Regions from separate parts of the Homo sapiens genome. Here region 2 is linked to region 1. The links are contacts of gene promoters, found by promoter capture Hi-C in human tissues and cell types (Jung and others, 2019). All regions are on one chromosome and are shown on one strand. Each heading gives the region's core, a stretch centred on a gene start or on the middle of the fragment in contact. The rest is flanking DNA. Distances are from core to core; before and after follow the strand shown. Region 1 holds the start of MSH4 (mutS homolog 4). Region 2 overlaps AK5 (adenylate kinase 5).

Region 1 (4,067 bases), core at 871-3,370:
ATCCTTCTAGAGAGTTTGATCTTTTACCTGCAGATACAGGTCTACTGATTTAAGTGGCAAGGGACATGATAAGATCATTTTCCACATAACTCTGGTGGTACAGTAAGTAAGCTACAAGGATGGAAGAACACTTAAGAGTTTGAGGGCTAGGTGCAGTGGCTCACACCTGTAATCCCAGCATTTTGGGAGGCTGAGGTAGGAGGATCGCTTGAGCCTAGAAGTTCGAGACCAGGCTGGGCAACGTAGGAAAACACTGTCTCTACAAAAAAATTTTTTAAATTAGCCATCTGTAGGGGCACATGCCTTGGTCCCAGCTACTCGGGAGGCTGAGGTGGGAGGATCGCTTGAGCCCAGGAATTTGAGGCTGCAGTGAGTCATGACCATGCCACTGCACTCCAGCCTGGGCAACAGAGCAAGACTCTGTCTCAAAAAAAAAAAAAAAGTGCAGAGAGGAATTTAATTAATCATATAGTCAGCCTGAGGTATCCATTAGTCCATCAATAAAAACTTCAGAAGACAGTCTGAAGTAAGTCTGGAGTGTAGATGAGATCTGAGCTGTGGAGATAGTCACATCTAGGTAGAAGTGGCCTAGGAAAAAAAGCTTTAATGACATGCCCATAATTTGGGAACAAAGGTGGGCACAGCAATTCTCTGGGAGGTAGCAGAAAAACAGGGGCAAGTGGAATCAAGGAAGCCAAATTAAAAGAGTTTAAGAGAAGACCAGTCAAGAACATTAAACATAGGCCAGGCAGCAGTGGCTCATGCCTGTAATCCCAATGCTTGGGCAGACCGAGGCAGGAGCACTTGAGACCAGGAGTTTGAGACCAGCATGGGCAGCATAGCGAGACTCTGTTTCTAAAAATAAAGAAATTAAGAACATTAAATACAGCAGAAAGGTCACATGAGATGAACTGAAAAATGACCATTGGATTTGGTATTTGTTACTTTACCATTGTGTTGCAATCGTGTGTGAAAAATGGTGATGCTTTGTCATGAATAGAGACTAACAAAATAATAAATGATTTGAAGGACATGCATCTTTTTTGTTTGTTTGTTTTGAGTCAGGGTCTCACTGTGTCACCCAGGCTGAAATGCAGTGGCGCAATCTCAGCTCACGGCAGCCTCGACCTCCCGGACTCGCCATCCTCCCACCTCAACCTCCTGAGTAGCTGGGACCACAGTCACGTGCCACCACACCCAGATAATTTTTGTACTTTTAGTAGAGATAGGGGATGGGGGTGGGAGGTTCACCATGTTGGCCAGGCTGGTGTGGAACTCCCGGCCTCAAGTGATCCGCCCACCCTGGTTTCCCAAAGTGCTGGGATTACAGGCGTCAGCCACCGCCCAGCCCACTCTTTTAATACTAAACATATTATTTTCCCTGAATTAGATGAAATGTTCAATTTAATCTATTTTATCCCACCTTAGCAGGATTTGGAGAATTAAATTCAGCAGCCAAAGATCAGCTCACAACTTCTATCAGCAAACTCACGCACAAACTGTCATTTGTCAGACACTGTGAGGGACGTTATATGGGATACTTCAGCCTTTCTCAGAACTGAGCCATCCACAGTCAAGGTCTTGCAATAGAACCAATTTGAAAAGTCAAGGCTTCTAATCACCCAGACTCACCAAATTCCCAGGGCACTCAGATCTCACGCCCCAACCAAATCACAACTTCACTGTGGTAACCACCACCCACGTGCCCCCGAGCCTCCATGAACTGCCGGCCTCTAGCCTCAAGGAGACTCCTCCACCCAATCACTCCTTGCCTTGAGCTGGCCGGGAGTTTGGCGCGGGGCAGGGAAGGCTGCTGCTGCTGCTGCTCCGGTCGCCCGCAGCTCCTGACGTGCCAGGACAGGTGGATGCAGAGACCACCTGGACCGAAGGGCGGCTCTGTGGAGTCTCCTGGAGTCCGAAATTGTAGCGGGGACCCTGAGGTGAGCGGGTTTCTCCCGACGACGGGGAAACCGCCGGGGCAGAAGGCGAGGTTGATGAGATCTCAGGCCTCAGCATCCTCCCAAACCTTCCCTGACCCGAGAAGTATGAGGTTTCTGAGCGACCCCTCCAGTAGCCCAACTACAGAAGCTGCGCCGCTGAAACGGGCGGGAGAACTGCGCGCCGACGCACTAAGCTGCACTGCGCAGGCGCAGGCAGGCTCAGCTTTCCACATGGATTCACGTACTTCAGGTCTATGACCCTGCTTCCAGCCATTCCCAAACCCATCACTTTCCACATGAACCTCACTGGAACATCCTCAGCCTGCAGGTATCAGACTGACCAGAACTCTGCAAGGCCCATCAATGACCACCCGATTTGTTAGCCCCATTATTCTCACAGCACCCAATCTCCCTTATTGCAAATGTTACATGCATTTCCCACACGTCCAAGCACACTAGCTTATCTTTAAATGTAGAAACCACCCAACACAGTACACCCAGTGCCTTTGACACAATGAGAACGTGTAATGCTCACACAGCATAACCCACCTAAGGTTGATCTTGTGACCAAATATAGGAAAGATAGTTATATTATCAAAAGATAGTATGCACATGGCTGTGTGCATAGTAGAGTAGGAAACAGGGAAAGACTGACTGGGTAAGATCTCTCAGTTAACAATTCCCCATCTACCAATTTCTAGTACTGTGGTTTCTAACATATAAATCAGTTAATGGCACACTAGAAGTTCAAACTCCAGCTTTGCAGTGGTGACCTTTAGAAAATTCCTTAAATAAGGCCAATAGTACCAACTTACCAGAGATCCATGGATTAAACATGACGAAATTATCTGGATACTGCCATACAGAAGCTATTAGAAGACATTAATTTACACCACTACTGAAATCCTGCCACTGTTGAGTATCTCAATAAACCAGTTATGCACAGCGGTTTACCCACATGCAGTGACAACAGTCCTTAAGAACATCTCTGTTCTTGGAATGATTATTGCACAGGGCATTCCAAACATACTTGAGAAAAATCTCAATTTCCATCAAAAAACCTTATTTTCAGATCGGGCACGATGGCTCCTCCCTGTAATCCCAGTACTTTGGGAGACTGAGGCCAGAGGATTACTTCACCTCCGGAGACCAGCCTGGGGAAGACAGTGCCTGTCCCCAAAATTAAGAAATCAGCTGGGCATAGTGGGCATGGTGGCAGGTACCTGTAGACCCTGGTACTCAGGAGGCTGAGGTGGAAGGACTGCTTGAGCCCAGGAGTTTAAGGTTACAGTGAGCTGTGATTGCACTACTATGCCCCAGCCTGGGGAAGAAAGGAAGACCCTGTCTCTAAAAAATAAAATTTAAAAATAGAGAATACCTCACTTTCACCAAAACTGTAAACCCCTAGAGTGATTGTACTCATTTTAGGCCAGGCGTGGTGGCTCACGCCTGTAATCCCAGCACTTTGGGAGGCCGAGGTGGGTGGATCACAAGGTCAGGCTGGTCTCCAGCTCCTCAGCATGGTGAAACCCTGTCTGTACTAAAGTAACATAAAAATTAGCCGGGCATGGTGGTGTGCGGCTGTAGTCCCAGCTACTCGAGAGGCTGCGGCTGAATTGCTTAAACCCGGCAGACGGAGGTTGCAGTTAAGCTGAGATCGTGCTGCTGCGCTCCAGCCTGGGCAACAGAGATTCTGTCACAAAAAAATAAAAAAGAGTGATTGTACCCATTTTAGCTTTTTAAGAAAAAGACAGGTGCAAAAAAATACTGTGGTGACCATCAACTTACCCGTTAGTGTTTCCTTATTTGAAGACAACTCCTTCTTTGGGTAATTCTGATATATAAAATGCTAAAAAAAAAAAAAAAAAAAAAAAAAAAAAGGACAGTCCGAATCACAACCCCATTTTAAGATGGTAGATTGCCATTTAACCTAAGTCTGTGACCAATTCAGAATAACCATATTCAAACCTATCAATCATTTCCAAATTTCAACAGCCATTTATTTTGTGCATCATTTAATTCATGTATGGGTTCTATCCACTTTCATCAGTTAACATTCTTGTTGACAAACCAATTTACATCAACTTGCTATAGAACAGATGAAAGGTATACATGGGGGAAAAATCA
Region 2 (4,067 bases), core at 790-3,289, 1.6 Mb before region 1:
CCAAAAAACACATGAAAAAATGCTCATCATCACTGGCCATCAGAGAAATGAAAATCAAAACCACAATGAGATACCATCTCACACCAGTTAGAATGGCAATCATTAAAAAGTCAGGAAACAACAGGTGCTGGAGAGGATGTGGAGAAATAGGAACACTTTTACAGTGTTGGTGGGACTGTAAACTAGCTCAACCATTGTGGAAGACAGTGTGGCGATTCCTCAGGGATCTAGAACTAGAAATACCATTTGACCCAGCCATCCCATTACTGGGTATATACACAAAGGACTATAAATCATGCTGCTATAAAGACACATGCACACGTATGTTTATTGCGGCACTATTCACAATAGCAAAGACTTGGAACCAACCCAAATGTCCAACAATGATAGACTGGATTAAGAAAATGTGGCACATATACACCATGGAATACTATGCAGCCATAAAAAATGATGAGTTCGTGTCCTTTGTAGGGACATGGATGAAGCTGGAAATCATCATTCTCAGCAAACTATCGCAAGGACAGAAAACCAAACACCGCATGTTCTCACTCATAGGTGGGAATTGAACAATGAGAACACATGGACACAGGAAGGGGAACATCACACACCGGGGACTGTTGTGGGGTGGGGGGAGGGGGGAGGGATAGCATTAGGAGATATACCTAATGCTAAATGATGAGTTAATGGGTGCAGCGCACCAGCATGGCACATGTATACATATGTAACAAACCTGCACGTTGTGCACATGTACCCTAAAACTTAAAGTACAATAATAATAATAATAATAATGAAAAAGTTTTCAGCTACAAGAACCTTGGATGTTAACTTCAAAATACAAAGGGTAGCAGGAGTGATAGTGCTGCAGCGGTAGCATAGGTAGAGTGATGAGTTTCTAGGAATAAAAATTTATTTACATTTCATGGGTCAGAAAAGGATCCAGGGAGATATAATTGCAGGACAATAGACCAGATGATGTCTAAAGTTGCTCACAGCTCTGAAATTCTGTGATTAGATGGATGCTATGTTTTAGGTAATTGTTATTTAATGTCTAGGAATCTTAAGAAAATCCTTTTCTTATTCCTAAGGACAGAATTTGCAGAGGATGTGGTCTGCATAATCTGTTTTATGTCATTTAATATAAGAGGGCTAGAGAGGTCAATTGGAAATTTCAAAATGAAATGCTCACCAAATTCCCTAGTTCATTCACAACACATGTTTTAATTTGAATAACAAATGCAGTAACAACTTTCAAAAGTCTACAAAATATATCTAGATTAGGAAAGGGAATTATAGCAGAGGGAGGAGAATTATGCACCATCTGAGGAGAAAACTATAATCATGGTTTGCATTTTTAATGGCGGAAATGAGTTTTTGTTTTTATTTTCTTTTGGCTCTGATTTTCAAACTGCAATAGAGATAGGGCTTGCCACATAATGAGCAATGTTATGTCTATGAGACACCCTAAATGGACTGAAAAGGGATGGTACCAGTTCAATCTTTCCTCTGCGATTCTGCTTTTGATTAAACTTAGGTCTGTCTCCCATTTTTTTCCTCTCCTTCTTGATGGGGAAATCAATTGGCTGTTTTGTTTCAGTGTTATATATCCCATAAGTGTCATTCTCTAAGAACCAAATGAGCTTCTTGAAATTTTTACTTCTCCCTTGATTCATGCAAGAGATTTCAATTAAGCAGGCTCTCCACCAATGGCATTTCTTGTTTGTTACTGAAGCTCCTTCAACATGCAAATAACTGGCCCTTCAAAATTTCTTTTATATGTTTGGAGATGTCCCTCCAAAAGATTGATTGATTGGTGTTCTCTTTGCAGTGACTTTGTTTTTCTTCAACTAAAAATTGAAGATTGCACTAAAAGAGTAATAAACTTTAAAAACTCATGGCTCCTGGAGTGAAGTTATCAGCAATGGAGTAACAACCATTGAGACTACTTTGCAGAACCATATTTCTAAAGCCTCATAATTAACTACAAAATTTGAAAGAGAAACACCTAAGTGGACGTGGTGAGTGAGATGGGTGGGAACAATTCTCTGAGAAAGTAGAGTCAGTCCCATGTTTTGATGAGAATTCCTGTGGTACAGCCCTGCTGAACCAAGCTTGGCGGAACATACTTTTTTTTTTTTTTTTTTTTTTAACAGAATGAAAGAAGGACAAATCATGAAAGAAGACAGATCTAAAAACAGACATGATTGGTATGCAAAGGGATGAGTACAGAACACTTGAAGGCTGTGTATATCTGAGTAAAACACTTATTTTCTAAGCCTTCTGTACAGAATCTTTATTTCACTGGATATAGGCAGCACCCAGAGAACTTTGTGGGGAAAAAGTCAACACAATAAAGAGATACTAGAGAAAATTGTTGTGATATTTATGAACTGTTTTATGAAAAACTTCTCCTTGAACATGAAGCTTAACACTGTAATAGTGACTTTGATTTATTCTGCTATAGAAACCTAGCAGAGAAGGTTAACTTAAGATAACTTTGATTATTCCTACGACATTAGCTCAGAGAATATTTTTTGGAATCTTCATCAGCACTCAACAACAGGAGCACCAGGTAACGCCATTTACTGAACAACTACTATGTGCCACACACTGCATTAGAGGTTTTCTTTATACATTTTTTATCAATTTTAATTTATCACTTGGATTTTATATGGATTTATTCGATTCCTACAATAACATTATAAAACATTATCTCCATTTTAAAGATTCAAAAACTGAGCCTCAAAGAGATTAAATAACTTGTCCAGGTTGTGTAACTACATTGCAGAGCCAGGATCCAAATCCACATCTGTCTGCATCAGACAGATGCAGATGCCAAGGCTGGCAGGATCAGATCTTAGCTGGGCACTTGCAGAACAAAGCAGGGCTTTTGGAAGTAGTCTTAGGATGGACCCCCAAGAATCCTCAGAAACTGTGCCAAGCCAGGTCCAGATGCAATATACTGAAATATTCTTTATCTTCTTCCCCATTTGGGGACCTTAGTAGGTGATTCTGTTTCTCTGCATGATGCATGTACCTTGCTGGGTGGCTGTGGTTGTTGGCAGAAGAACCTTCCTGCAGACTGGCCAGGAAATCAGAAGGAGCAAGGGCAGGCAAAGTTGACTGCAAGAGGCAGATGACTTCCCAACTCCTATGGGTCTGTGTGGGTTGGTAGCTTAAAGCTACAGGGAAACTGGCTACTGCCCAGCAATCCTCTTTGTCTATTGTTGACTCTAGTTGCACCCCACAGCAGCCTTCTAAACCTCTTTGCAAATAACCCTGCCTTTTAGTTTGCTGAGAGGATTGAGGTCATCTAGCATGGATTCTGTTTTTCTCCTCTCATCACTATTCGGTCTCCCTCAGGAATCAAAGGAAGAGTGGGCCTAGCCTCCTTCCAAGAGCCTCTCTGAGATGGGAGAATGGATTTCTGATATGGGCCATGTCTGGTCTGGCACTTCCTAAAGAAGCTGCTCTGGTTCTGTCCCAGAGTTCCAGCCACCAGCACCCACACACATGGGCCCAGCTTAGCTGCCCCTCCCTCACAGCCCAACCAGGGCTTTGGCCCCCTATCCCCTTTGACTGAGAGAAAGCATTCCAGACTCCTTTCCCAGAGCCCCTTGATCTGGCTGTCTAATTAGGAGACAGTCGATTCAAAGCCAGACCACTAACAATAAGAAGGGAGAGGCTCGGTTTCAGGCCATGCAGGAGGTTGTGGTTGAGAGAAAAGGGCCCAAGAGAAAAGAATCCAAGTCAGTGGTGGTAATCGGGGTTCGGAACAATTCTTTAGCTGAAGGGAGGGTGGCTGCAGTGGCCGATTGTCTAAATTTTATAGATTCAGGTACAGCCCCAGAGCAAACATCCTTAGCTTGACCAATGTCCAGATCATGAGCAGATATCAAGTGCCCAATATTCTGCTCGCTAATCTTTGGGTACTATGACAGAACACTTCTAAAATTAAGTTGCTGCAGAAAGCACTTACTTCTATTGGGGGTAGCTGAAATAAACCCCAATGTAGTAAATACCAAGAGGATTTAAGATTTCATTAAGATGATACTGACTAGATAATGCAT

Evidence for each region. The method cuts DNA at HindIII sites, captures the fragments that hold promoters and counts their contacts. A contact is called where the count stands out against the background at its distance.
Region 2: a contact is called between a fragment that was not itself captured here and the fragment with the promoter of MSH4 in region 1, in 1 of the 25 tissues and cell types used here (hippocampus).

The regions. Positions count from the first base shown.
Region 1 is chr1:75,794,935-75,799,001 of GRCh38, reverse strand. MSH4 (mutS homolog 4) reads right to left here and starts at 2,120. Exons shown (of 20, transcript NM_002440.4): 1 at 1,773-2,120. The coding sequence starts at 2,016. RABGGTB (Rab geranylgeranyltransferase subunit beta) reads right to left here. Exons shown (of 9, transcript NM_004582.4): 9 at 3,916-4,067. The HindIII fragment of the contact is 10,447 bases long and covers 1-4,067 here.
Region 2 is chr1:77,399,012-77,403,078 of GRCh38, reverse strand. All of the region lies in intron 6 of AK5 (adenylate kinase 5), which reads right to left. Among named protein-coding and RNA genes, the nearest start is that of AK5, 120 kb to the right of the region's middle. The HindIII fragment of the contact is 6,080 bases long and covers 1-4,067 here.